Linked DNA regions of Homo sapiens: region 2 is linked to region 1. The links are contacts of gene promoters, found by promoter capture Hi-C in human tissues and cell types (Jung and others, 2019). All regions are on one chromosome and are shown on one strand. Each heading gives the region's core, a stretch centred on a gene start or on the middle of the fragment in contact. The rest is flanking DNA. Distances are from core to core; before and after follow the strand shown.

Region 1 (6,771 bases), core at 2,684-5,183:
CTGGTGGAGCTGTGTGGTGGGCTGGCAGCTCCTTTCTCTTCACCTTGTTTGGGTGTTATCAGCTCCTCTTTCTCCAACCTGGGGTGCTCCTGCCTCGATATCATCAATCACTGATGGAAACTCGCAGGGAAAAGATTTGTTTGTGTGTTCCTTGAGGACAGAACAATGTTGTAGTATTTGATGGGTCTTAATATACGGTGAGCTTCAAAGGTAAGTAGTTGCCTATTCTAGTCAGGTTGAGGCGATACCGAATGACTCACATGAAACATGGAATTGACTTCATTGATACCAGCAAGGAGGTGCTCACAGTGAAGTCAGCCCTCCCTCACCACAGGGGCACATGCCACCCCCATTTTGTAGCCAAAAAACCTGAAGTTAGGTCGCCTCCCTGAGTCACCCAAGCACTGGCCTGAGTGCTGCACAGTGGGGTGACCGGGCTTCCCTACATCAAAGAACTACCCTCAGCCCAGGGGCCTGGCTGTCTAGGAAGGGTTCAGAAGGCACACCCAAGACTCAGGCCCCTGCCTCAACTCCACAACACTGAGGGAGGTGAGTAGACTGGGTGGGAGGGGCAGCTCTGCAGCTGGCCAGAGGCTGCGGGGACACAAGGGGTACTCAGCAGACCTGGGCGTCTCTCCACAAGGCTCAGGTACCAGATCTGAAATAACATGAAACACAGTAGGGGGTTCATCAACGTCATCATCATTATTCACTACGTTTGCTTCAGACCTCAACATCACCCACAGATGATTATGGGTTTAGAAATGGAATGAGGTTGAACTTAGGGGGTGACCACCTGACTTCTGTTTTATCTTTGTCTTTTATTCATGCTTCTTTTTACTGAGTGGTCATCCGCAAACAAGCCTGCAACATGACATGTCTTGGACTCAGCTCATTTGATGCACCAACAAGACAAACAGCAGACAACGGCAGCACCACAGAGCTGGAAACAAAATGAATAAATACTTTTTCACAATGAAATGAGCAGAGGGACTGTTGACTTGGGGGGCTCCCGCAAGCCAGAGACAAGTGGGGGGAACTTGCTGACTTCCAAGAAGAAAAGCCAGCAAAGAGGAACCAGTCTCCAGGAAGAATATGAAAATGAAGAGCTGGTATGTAGGTAGCACTTCTTGAGAGCCTTATCTTGCTTAAGCCTCCCCAAACACTGTAAAGTAAGTGGGAAGGAGATTATGGAAAAGAACACTGAAGTTCAGAGAGATCAATATCCCATCCAAGGGTGCATAGCTGGGACTCAGTTCAGGGATGTGAGCAGAAGGGGCTGGGCCTCTGCCATCTCCGATGCTCAGGCACCTCATCACTGAACCAAACACCCAGCAACCCACTGTGAGCAAAAATAAATCTTCCTCCTTCCCGGCCCCTGTGGTCCCTGCCTCTGAGGCCACAGCTAGGAGATATGGTTCCTAGGAAAGGCACAACGAAAAGGGATACTCCCGCCATTTTTGACCTTCAAAGCCCTTCGTGTCTTCACTATGCCCTATGCAGCCCCAGTGACATGGGACCACCCTGGGTCATAGGTGCTCACCTGCTTGAAAGAATAGGTCAGAGGAATGTCAGAGAAGCCCCTCCTCCCTGCACTGCACCACCCACTCTCACACAGTCTGGCCTTAGTTTCTCGACCGATGGTGATGTCTGGGGCAAGTGTCTGCACGCCTCTGTTTACTCACCCGTAAAATGGGGAGAAGCGCATTTGCCTCCACCCCTCCTGCCGATGGGAGCAGAGGTAGAGCCTGCTTGTCTGGACAAGCCCAGAGCTAGGCCCATCCTCCTGACCTGCTCTCTGGGAGCCACCTACTGTGACAAAGTCTATGGCTGAGTGCTCCAGTCTGATCTCAGGCTCCCAGGATCACGTGGGTATCAAACGGAGGAGCTGCAGGTGAGCCAGTCGGCATCTTTGCAACTGGCTCCTGAGACCAGACGCCTCGGGTCACAAGGATGTCTGAGTGTGAGGTGAGGTGGCTTTCATTCCTGACTTCATAGCCAACAAAGTGGTGACTGTCTATCTTTGACCAAACAGGCTCGACTATCTTCCCTAAAGGAGCAGAGTTCTAAGCTCAACCCCATTTGCCTCCCCCATCAATCCAGCAATTATTTAATTAACACAGTTTCCTCTATAAATTTTATTTCAGATTTTTTTTTAAAATCCTGGCAGTGACATAATTTCAACCATCAAGGACCCCCGATAAAGTCTCAGGATGGGAGTTCAGTTTGTAAAGCATCTCTAGTTGCAGCTTCCTGGGGCCTGCTGCACACACTGGCCTTGGGCCCCTGGCCTCCATCCATGCAGGAGGGGTTTGTCACTACTCCCTGACGGTCCTCTTGGGCTCAGGCACCCAAACGCTAGGGCTCAGCACCCAGCCGGGGGCCGTGGCATAGCACATCTGCCCAGATGTTTTCAGGAGATCTGAGTGGGAGCCATGGGGCCAGCCAAGAGGGCAGGGAGCCCCGGATTTGCAGAAGCAGCTGAGGAAAGAGCTGGCATTGCTCAGACTCGCCAGTGTTAGCCAGCCGATATCGGTCAAGGCTGCCCCGCTCGAGGGTCCATTATCCCCTTTCCCCGGCCTCAGCTGTGCACTCCAGGCCATAACAGCACAAGACCTTTCCACAACCCCAGGGTAAGGGTCAGATGTGGGGTTTCCAAAAGCTTCAAAACTTACCCCTCTATCCAGCTCTATCCAGAAGGACACCAGGGGACAGAGAGATGGACACGGAGGCCTCAAAACAGGAAAATAAGGAGACCCCTCCCCATTGTTGATTACTTGGGGTTACCTACAGAAAGAGATGAACTGAAGGGGCTGAGCCTATCTGAGGATTAAAGCACAGCTTTTGTCAGGAGTCCGTGCCTCCGGTCTTTGTTCCAGCGACCTGAGGAATGGCATGCATCAGAAGCCGCTTCCGTGTCTCAGATGGGGCCTGGGTCAAGTCCTGGGAGTTGATGGAGCGTTTCCCAAATCGCAAAAGGAGAGGAGCTAGACTTACCTCCCCCTCCTGGGAAGTAATGCGCGACAAGAATTTAAACTCTTAAAACGATTAGCAGCAAAGGTCTCATGTGCTTTTTTTTAATTATCATTTTTTAATCGAGGTATAATTTATGCATTTAAAAAATCAGATCAATTGCCCCCCGGGCTCTGGGATGGAAGGCGGTGTGCGCCTGCGAAGGTCAGAGGCCCAGCGGCGCCAGGGCTCCTCGGCGGAGAGCCGCCCGGGTCCGGCGCTTTGCTTTCGCCTTCTGCCCCACCGCGGGCGAAGCCCCAGGGCCCCGGGGAGACTCCAGGCCGGCTGGGCCGGGGTGCGCCCGCCGGCTGTCCGCGCTCGGGCAGGGTGGGGCGCAGCGGGCGTCTGTCCTGCTAGCGGGGATCGGGCGGCTGGACCCAAGAGCAGGGCACGTGCGCAGCGACGCGGGGCGGCCCCGCCAGGAGCCCCGACCCGGGCGCGGCGCAGGGCCCGGCGGAGAGCGCGCATTCCCGAGCGCCGCGAGCCGGCCGAAGTCGGGCGAGCGCGCCGTGCGGCGGCTGGGAGTGGGCTGCATGTGCCGCGCGGGGAGCCCGCCCGACTTCGGGGAGGCAGCGGGGCGCCGTGGCCCCGCGGCTCAGCTCCCTGCCGGGTCGGGTGTCCCAGCCCTGCGACTTCCGGGGCCCGGCGGCTCCTCGGGGAGCTCGTCCACAGGCAGCCTCCGGGGCGAGAGAGCGCGCGGCGCGGGCGCCGGGACGGTCCGCGGCACGCGGGTGGAGCCGCCGGCGCTCGGGCTCCCGCAGGGGCGGCGGGCGGGGCGGGGTGAGGCGGGCCGGCCGCCCTCCCCTCTCCTCCCTCCCGCAGCCCGCCCTCCCTTCCTCCGGTCCCGCAGCCAATTAGGCGGCCCCCTCGGGCGGGAGGCGTGGGGCGCTGCATAAAGCGGCGGGGAGCTGCCACCCCGGGAGCGGGCTGCGCAGTGTCCGGGCCGAGCCGGTGCGCCGCAGACTAGGGCGCCTCGGGCCAGGGAGCGCGGAGGAGCCATGGCCACCGCTAACGGGGCCGTGGAAAACGGGCAGCCGGACAGGAAGCCGCCGGCCCTGCCGCGCCCCATCCGCAACCTGGAGGTCAAGTTCACCAAGGTGAGGCGGGCGCCCCTCCCACCCGACGGCCGCGGGCCCCTGCGCTGGGCAGCCAGACTCGGGGCGGCGGGGGCGAGGGAGCAGCGGGCCGGGGGTCCGCCGGGCGCCGCCGAGACCCGAGCCTCCCTGCCCGGGCGCGGCTCTCCAGAAACCGCACCTTTCGCGGGACGTCTCGGGCGGGATCGCAGGCGGCGGGGCTCGGCGCTGTGAGCCTCGAAGCCGGGAAACCGAGGCCGTCCAGCGCCCGCGCGGGGCCGGGCCGCCCGCATCCCTGCGAGGCCCCGACGTGTCCCTGCGCTGCCCGCTTTGATCGCGAGTGGAGGTGCGCGCCGCGTTGACTCGGAGCGCGCTGGTTTTGGGGAGCTCCCTCCCCAAAAACCCCTGCGATGATTTCCAGGGTGGACGAGTCTGGCTTTGAGAGGGTCGGAGGGTCCGAGAGCGCCAAGAGAGAGTCCGGGAGGCAGATGGCGGAGCTGCAGTTGGAAGACTGGGGAAGCGGGTCCTCCGAGCAAAGCGCAGCGGGCGCCTTCCGTGCTTAGTTTATACCCGGCTCAGCAGCAGAACGAGGAGGAGTAGGAAGGTGCTCGCTTACTGACGAAACCTCCCCGGAGCCCAGAGGTCCCGGTGTTTACACACAAGGCGCGCGCTCCGGAAGGTCGCAGACCTGGGCCTTTGGGAAGCGGTGGGTCGCGAGGCCGCAGAAGCGCACGGTTCTCTGCCTCCTCGCTCTGTGGGCTGGGAGGCTACAGCGTTGGCAGAACGGCGAGATTACCTGCCCGGGGCAGAAAGGAATAAAAGAAGATGGTGAGGCCTCCGAGGCCTCTGAGCTGGGGCTGAGGAGGGCCGAGAGACCCGGGTCCGGGAGCGCGACCCGATGGAGGACACCCCCAGGCTGTCTGGCGTGCGCGTCTGTCGTGGGCCGGTGCTGGGGCACTTTAGAGGCACAGGCCAGGCCGAGAGCCATTGCCTTAACTTTCCCCACCTTTGGCTTCTCTTGATTTTTGCTTTTACCCATAGCCCCCAACTCCAGCTGACACCGCACTTAGAGAATTTCCTCATCCGTTTTACTTTAAGAAGTAGCAATTATCTTTCTCAAAGAATTTTAATCAAGCGGAGAAAGTTGCAGGGCACTATGTGTGGCCTTCAGATTTGGGTCTCTTGGCACTTAATTCCCAATGTCGGCTGAGCCTCTGATCACAAGACATTTAAATTAACTGTTTTCAGAAGGCTCTGTAATCAACAAAGACACGTCGCTGTAAACTAAACGCTGGAAATTATTCTTAATGTAGTTTTATTTGTAATATCAGCTTCAGAGTGAAAATTCCAACACGAATTCTGGGAAGAGTGAAAATGGTACCCGAATTTTGTAAGACCCTAACCCCAGGTGCTTGGCTGCTGCTACTGATGGTTAAGTGGGGAGGTTGTTTGTTTTCTTTTGGTTGTACAGGATTTCAAAATACTGTATATAGAAACCAGACAGTAAATGTATTATGGTCCTTTTACTTTTTATGTTTTTGAGTCCTATCAGCAATCTGACCACATACAAAAAGTTTACCTCTTTCTCTATGATTTTTAGGACACTTTTAAAGTGTAGATGTAGCCCTTATGGAGACCTTAGACAATTCACAGAGCAATGGTTGCCTGTTGTCTTGGTGGGTGCGCAACCTTTGCCAGTTAAAGGGAACCAGTGCAGGAATGAGGCTGAGGGAAGCTGGTGGATCGGCCTGGAGTGCTGGGATCTTGAGTGGTCTCCCAGGCGATAAAGGCCCCAACTGCCTGACACCGGCTGCTGGCTCCTCACCCGTTGGGGGACTGTGCTGCTGCCTGCTCTGTCCTGGCTCCTGGCCCATCTCTGCAGAGACCTCCCCATAGCAGTTGTGGACCCAGGCAGCTTGTGTGGCTGAGGGTGGCCAACCAGTGCCCTGGCACAGTCCTCAGGGAGACTGGACTGGAGAGGCGGCCGAGAGTGAGGCCACCAAGAGTGCCTGCCGAGGGAAGGAGCGGGATAAACTGAAGTGCAGGACTGAGGCCCAGAGTGGGCGAGTGGCCCGGCAGGTGGGTGGCCTGGCAGGAGAGCAGACGGTGGAGCATGGGAGCCAGCAGTGGTCTGCTATTTTCCAAAATTGACTCATGGTGCTTCTCGATAATGGGGCACACACCAGAGTTGGTCCATCTGAGCCCTAGCCCCGGCAGTGCCATTTCCCAGGGTGGTCCAACTTTCAGGATGACTTTGTCAAAGCCCCTTCATTTGTCCTCACATGTTAACATTTCATTCTCTAGGGTCATGCTGTGTGATTCTGGAGAGCTGAGAGCCCCTCCAGGGTCCCCACACAGATCTCAGAGGATAGAAGTCCCTTCTAATTTAGAGGGCCTCTTTCTTTCCTTATAAAATTTCTTCCAGTAGCAGGGATTCTCTTCAAAGTTTTCTGATTTTTAAAACACCGGTTTTTATTATCTCTCTTATGAAAAATAAAATTCCCCCAAATCTCCTTTTCTGAAAACATATTCTTTTTGAGTTTAGCTGAGTGGCCTGTTGTCAGATGGAAGTTACGGGAAATCGGCATCAATAGGATTCACTTGTATGACTGTCATCTTCACCTCTGCCTGAGACACCTTACAGCTCCGTCCTGCTTCCATGTCATTCTGTTCCTTTTGTAAAATG
Region 2 (6,771 bases), core at 2,937-5,436, 130 kb before region 1:
GTAGAGTTATCCAGTAAAACTGCCTTGTCCTAGAGATTTCTTCTTTGGGAGTTTTAAAATTATAAATTAAATTTCCTTAAGAACTATGGGGCTATTTACATGATCTATTTTATATTGGGCGAGTTGTGGTAATTTATATTTTTTAAGGAAGTGATCAGTTTTATCTAAATTGTCAAATTTATGCATGTTGAATACTTTCTCGTATTGCCTTATTATCTGTCTGTATAATCCTGCAGAGACTGTAGTAATATTCCTTGTTTCAACCCTGATATTGGTAATTTGCATCTCTCTCTTGTTTTTAGTCTTTCTAAAGATTTGTCAGTTTTGTTGGTGTTTTTAAAGAACCAGTTCTTTGTTTTGTTGATTTTTCTCTATATTTTGTTTTCGATTTTATTAATTTCTGCTTTTATCTATATTATTTTGTTCTTTTTGATTGCTATTGATTTATTTTGCATTTCTTTCTCTAGATTAAGAACCCAGATTAATGATTTGAGACTTTTCCTGTTTCCTAATGTGTGCGTTTCATGTTATAAATTTCCCTCTCAGCACTATGTTAGCTGCGTCCCTAAAATTTGGATATATTGTATTTTAATTTTTATTCATTTTAATATATTTAAAAACATCTTTTCCTACAGAGTTTATTTTTTACTCAGGGATTATTTAAATATGTGTTGTTTAGTTTCTAAGTGTCTGGAAACTTCTTGTTACTTTTCTGCTTTTGATTTCTTGTTGAATTCCACTGTGGTTAGAGAATACACTCGGTATGAGTCTAATGCTTTTAAATTTGTGAATTTTTTTAATGGCTGGTAATATGTCCTATCTTGGTAAATGTTTTGTGGACACTTGGAAAGAATATATATTCTGCCGTTGAGTGATGTGTTCTATGAATGTCGTTTAGATTTGTTGACTGATGGTATTGCTGAATTCTTCTCTCTATACTTGCTGATTTTCTTTCTAGTTGTTTCATAAATTGTTCAGATAGGTGCATTGAAATCTCCAACTATAATTGTGGATTTGTCTATTTCTCCTTTTAGTTTTATCAGTTTTGTGTTCATATATCTTGTAGCTCTGTTGTTAGGTGCATACATATTTAGAATTACTGTATCTTCTTGATGGATTGACCCTTTTATTATTATATTATTATATGTCTCTTTCTGTCTCTGGTAATTTTCTTTGCTCTGATATCTACTCCATCTTATGTTTATATAGCCATTCCTGCTTTCCTTTGATTGATGTTTGCATGATTTTTAAAAAATCCCTTTACTGCCAACCTGCCTTTATCATTATATTGGAAGAAATTTCTTTTGGATAACATATGGTTGAATAATGTTTGTTGTTGTTTAATTTTTAAGACTTTATTTTTAAGAGCAGTTTTAGGTTCATAGCAAAATTGAGAGGAAGGTGCAGAGATTTGCCTTATACTCTCTGCCCCTAAACATGCATAGCTTCCCTCTGTTTCTGTCTTCTGAAAGTGGCTGTAGAGAATTGGTGTAGTTTCTTCCTTAAATGTTTGGTAGAAATCACCAGTGAACCTATACGGATGGGCCTGAGGCTTTTTGTTTCGGAGGTAATTGATTCAACCTCTTCAATAGATACAGACCTATTAAGATTGTCTGTTTCTTCTTATGTGAGTTTTGGCAGCTTGTGTCTTTCAAGATATTGGTCCATTTTATCTAGGTTACCAAATCTGTGGGCATAGAGTTGTTCATAGTATTTATTTATCATCCTTTCAGTGTCTATGGGCTCTATAGTGACGTCCCTTCTCTCATGTCTGATATTAGTAATTTGGGTCCTGTCTTTTTTTCTCAGCCTGGCTAAAGGCTTATCAATTTTACTGGTCTTTCCAAAGTACCACGTTTTTATTTCATTGATTTTTTTCTGTTAATTTCCTATTTTCAATTTAATTACTTTTTGTTCTAATTCTTATTATTTCTTTTCTTCTGCATACTTGGAATTTAATTTACTCTTTATTTCTAGCTTCCTAATATAGAAATTAGTTTGTTTTTAGATCTTCTTTTCTTATATGTGTATTCAGTGCTATAAATTTCCCACTAAGTGTTGCTTTCACTGCATCCCACAAATTTTTATTAGTTATGTTTTAATTTTCATTTAGTCCCAAATATTTTAAAGTTTCCCTTTAGTTTTCTTCTTTGACCGTATATTATTTAGAAAGGTGTTGTTTAATCTCTATGTAGTTGGGGATTATCCCATTATCTTCCTGTCATTAATTTCTAGTTTAATTACTTTGGGGTCTGAAAGTAGATATTCAATGATTTCTGTTTTTTGTTTTTTTAATTACGTGTATTTTATAGCCCAGAATATGGTCCATTTTGGTGAATGTCCCATGTGAGCTTGAGAAGAATATGTATTCTGCTGTTGTTGGATGAAATAGTCTAGAGGTATCAATTATATCCAGTTGATTTATGGTGTTGTTGAGTTCAATTATGTCCTTACTGATTTACTGCTTGCTGGATCTGCCCATTTATGATCAAGAGTTTTTAAATCTTCAACTATGACAGTGTATTCATCTATTTTTCCTTGCAATTCTATCAGTTTTTGTGTCTCATAGTTTGACACTGATGTTAAGTGCATACATGTTAAGGATTGTTATGTCTTCTTGGAGAATTGACCCATTTATCACTATGTAATGCCCTTCTTTATCCATGATCACTTTCCCTGCTTTTAGGTCTGCTTTTTCTAAAATTAATATGGCTACTTCTGCTTTCTTTTGATTAACCTTACTTTGTAATATTTTGTCCATTTTCTTTTAACCTATTTTTATCTTCATATTTAAAGTGGGTTTGCTTTTTGTTTTTTTGGTAGAGAACATATAGTTGGGTCTTGTTTATTGATCCACTCTGACAATGACTGTCTTTTAGTTGGTGCATTTATATCATTGACATTCAAAATTATTATTGGTATAATTGGATTCATATTATATCATTGACATTCAACATTATTATTGATATCATTGGATTCGTATCTACCATATTTGTTACACTTTTCTATTTGTTGCCTTTCATCTTTCTTTCTTCTTTTGTCTTCTACTCTTTTCCTATCTTTTGTGGTCTTAATTAGCATTTTACATTCCATTTTCTCTCCTTTCTTGGCATATCAGTTGTACTTCTTTTTTTATTTTTTAGTGGTTTCCCTAGAGTTGTAACATACATTGACAACTAATTTGAGTGTACTTTTAAATAACAATATCCCACTTCACAAGTTGTGTGAATACCTTATAATAACAAATAATCCAAATTCCTCTTCTCCATTTCTTGTATCACTGCTGTCACTAATTTTATTTATATATAAGTGCATATATATATCTAATACAATGTTGCTATTATTATTTTAAACAAATTTATCTGTTAAATCAACTGAGAATAAGAAAAATAAACATTTTTATTTTACCTTCACGTATTTTTTCTTCAACCTTTATACTTTCTTTACGTAGGTCCAAGTTTCTGAACTACATTATTTTCCTTCTCCCTAAAGAACTTCTTTTAAAATTTCTTGCAAGGCAGGTTCACGGGCAACGAATTCCCTCAATATTTGTTTGTCTGAGAAAGTATTTTTCCTTCACTTTTGAAGGATAATTTTACAGGGTACAGAATTGTAGGTTGCTGGGTTGTGGGTTTTATTTCCCCACACTTTATTTCACTCTACTCTCTTCTTGCTCGCATGGTTTCTGAAGAGAAGTTGGATATAATTTCTTATCTTTGTTTCTTTGTAGTAACATGTTTTTCCTCTCTTTGATTTTCTGTAGTTTGAAGATGATAGGCCTAGGTGCAGTGTTATTGGCATTTATCCTGCATGGTGTTCTCTGAACTTCCTGGGTCTATGGTTTGGTGTGTGACATTTATTTGGTGGAAATATTGTTCCAGTATTTTTTTTCTGTTTTTTTCTCTCTTTCTTATCTTTCTTTTGATGGGTTACTAATAAGCCCATCAAATGCATCCTTCGTTTCTGTTACAGTGTTTTTGTCTTTCAGCATTTCTTTTTGGTTCTTTCTTAGGATTTCTACCTCCCTGCTTATATTGCCCATCTGTTCTCGCATGTTGTCTACTTTGTCCATTTAAAACAGACTCTTCCAATCTCTGTCTTATAAATGGTGCACTTAGATCATTTACATTTAATAGAATTATAAATATGTTAAAACTTAAGTCTGCCATTTTAAAATTTTGTTTATTCCTTTTTTTCATTGTTTCTTTGTTTTCTTTTCCTGCTTCCTATGGGTTACTTGAACATTTTTTAGAATTCCAATTGATTTATCTGTAGTGCTTTTGAGTGTATTTCTTAGAATTTTTTTTAGTGATTGCTCTAAATATTAAATTACATAAAATAATTTATCACTGTCTGCTAGTATTGTCATTTTACCAGTTAATTCAGTATAGATATCTTCCCTCTCTTTATATCCCTTTACCTTCCTCCAGTTATAACTGTACTGAATTTTCCTCTGCATATCTTTAGAACCATATCACACAGTGTTATAATTTTTGCTTTTCCCATCAAACTTAATTTAGAAAATTCAAGAGAAGAAGGAAAATCTTTTAGTTAGTAATTTTGTTCTTTCCATGTTCTTTCTTCCTTTTAGATATCTTTTTTTTTTTTTTTTTTTTGAGACAGAGTCTCGCTGTGTCACCAGCCTGGAGTGAAATGGCATGATCTCGGTTCACTGCAACCTCCGCCTCCCAGGTTCAAGCAATCCTTGTGCCTCAGCCTCCTGAGTAGCTGGGATTACAGGGCCGCACCACCACGTCTGGCTAATTTTTGTATTTTTAGTAGAGATGGGGTTTCGCCATGTTGGTCAGGCTGGTCTCCAACTCTTGGCCTCACATGATCTGCCTGCCTTGGCATCCTGAAGTGCTGGGATTACCGGTGCGAGCCATTGGCCCCAGCCCCTTTTAGATATTCTAAGATTCTTTCTTTTATTGTTTTGTCTCTATTTTGAGAAATTCCTTTATTATTTTAGGGTAGATTTGCTGGTGACAATTTTCTTAGTTTTCCTTCATTCAAAACTGTCTTGATTTTTCACTTCAATCATAAGGCTATTTTACTAGGTATTGATTCTAGGTTGACAATTCCTTTCTTTCAGCACTTGAAAAATATTACACCCCTTTCTTCTGGCCTCTTTGCTTTCTGAAGAGAAATCTGCTGTCATTCAAATTGTTTTTCCTCAATAGGTAAGATGTTATGGTTTTCTCTGGCCACTTTCAGAATTTTTTTTTTGTCTTTAGTTTTCAAAAGTATTACTTTGATGTGTCTTGGCATGTTTTTCTTGGGGTTTATTCCATTTGGCATTTGTTCTACTTCTTGAATCTGTAAATTTATGTCTCTTGCTAAATTTGGTAAGTTTTTCAGCCATTATTTCTTCAAGTGCTTTTTCAGCCTGGACCTTTTTCTTCCAGGACTCTTATGACCCAAACATTAGATCGTTTGTCATAGTCCCCTCAGTCCCCAACCCTCTGTTCTTTTTTTTTTTTTCCAGAATATTTTCTCTCTGTTGTTCAGATTGGCTTATTTCTATTTTTCTATCTTCAAGTTTACTGATTCTTTCCTCTGTCCCCTCATTCTGCTGTTGAACCCATCTACTAAGCTGTTTATTTCAGCTATTGTATTTTTCAGTTCTAAAATTTTCATTTGGTTCTTCTTTACATCTTCTTTGTGGAAAATTTCTGTTTCTTAAGTTTTTTTTTTAGATGTATTTCGTGATCATAATTGCTTGTTAGAGCATTTTTATCCTGTCTTCTTTAAAATATCTTTAAGATAATTTTAACGTCTTTGTCATCCTGATGTTGGCATCTGTTCACTGTCTTTTTCATTACATTTGAGATCTTTCTAGTTCTTGACATGATGAGTGATTTTCAACTCTAATCTGGACATTTTTGTATTATGTTAGCAAAATTTGGACCATATTTAAATCTTCTGTTTTAGCTAGCTTTCTCTGACATTGTTTTTGCAGAGGTGGAAAAGGAGTGCTGCCTTGTTACTGCCAGGTAGGGGTAGAAGTGCAGGTTCCTCACTCAGCCTCTGTGGACACCCAAGCTGTGGGGTTCTGTGTTGTTGCTGGATGTGGGTGGGAGGTCTAGCTCGCTAACTTGTCTCCACTGACCCTGGGGGTTCATATCTCATTACTTACCAGAGGGGATGAAAATCTTAGGTGTCTACTGGGTCTTCTCTGACGTCACCCTTTGGTGTGTGTTAAGAGTCTCACAAAGGAAGAAGTCTAGGCTCTCTCCTTGGTCTTTGCTGATGTAGGTAATGTTTTCTGTGGTTTTCACTGGAATAGAGCAGTTAGTCTGTACAAGTTTTCTGTCTTGCTAGGCTGCCCCTTTCTTGGCCCTTTTGTTAGAGAGAGCAAGCTTTCGTTATTGTGGTGGTGGTTTGTGTTCATCGGGATCTCCAGCTTGCCAGCTTTTTCAGTTCCAAGTTTAGGATATATGAGGCAAAAAGAAACCCTACAGAACTCACTACCACATCATTCCTTGAGTCTTAAGGCACTTAGCCAGCCTACCTTCTCCTCATCACCTTTCAGAGACTTATCGTGTTTGTTTTATATATAATGTCCAGAGTTTTAGTTGTGCTTAGTGGGAAATTAGGGAAAGATATGTCTACTCCATCTTCCCAGAAGCAGAATTTTTCCTAATTTATTTATTTTAATTAAAAAAATCATTTTAGGAGACGTATTTGCCAAAGTTAAGGACATGCACCGGGGAGATAGGTCTATGCCTTTCTTTAAATATGATTTTGAGGGCTTCAACATTCAAAAGGGAA

The links. Contacts are between HindIII fragments. The study calls those that stand out against the background at their distance.
Region 2: a contact is called between a fragment that was not itself captured here and the fragment with the promoter of ALDH1A3 in region 1, in 2 of the 25 tissues and cell types used here (IMR-90 fibroblasts and lymphoblastoid cells).

What each region holds. Positions count from the first base shown.
Region 1 is chr15:100,875,898-100,882,668 of GRCh38, forward strand. It overlaps ALDH1A3 (aldehyde dehydrogenase 1 family member A3), which reads left to right and starts at 3,934. Exons shown (of 13, transcript NM_000693.4): 1 at 3,934-4,109. The coding sequence starts at 4,011. LOC124903575 (collagen alpha-1(I) chain-like) reads right to left here and starts at 3,906. Exons shown (of 1, transcript XM_047433433.1): 1 at 3,049-3,906. The coding sequence starts at 3,906. The coding sequence ends at 3,124. GCAWKR (gastric cancer associated WDR5 and KAT2A binding lncRNA) reads left to right here. Exons shown (of 4, transcript NR_160703.1): 4 at 1-981. RefSeq lists a silencer at 3,855-3,974 and an enhancer at 4,466-4,980. The HindIII fragment of the contact is 10,500 bases long and covers 1-5,118 here.
Region 2 is chr15:100,742,290-100,749,060 of GRCh38, forward strand. The region is part of intron 2 of LOC105371024 (a long non-coding RNA gene); the gene reads left to right. Among named protein-coding and RNA genes, the nearest start is that of GCAWKR, 100 kb to the right of the region's middle. The HindIII fragment of the contact is 6,250 bases long and covers 1,062-6,771 here.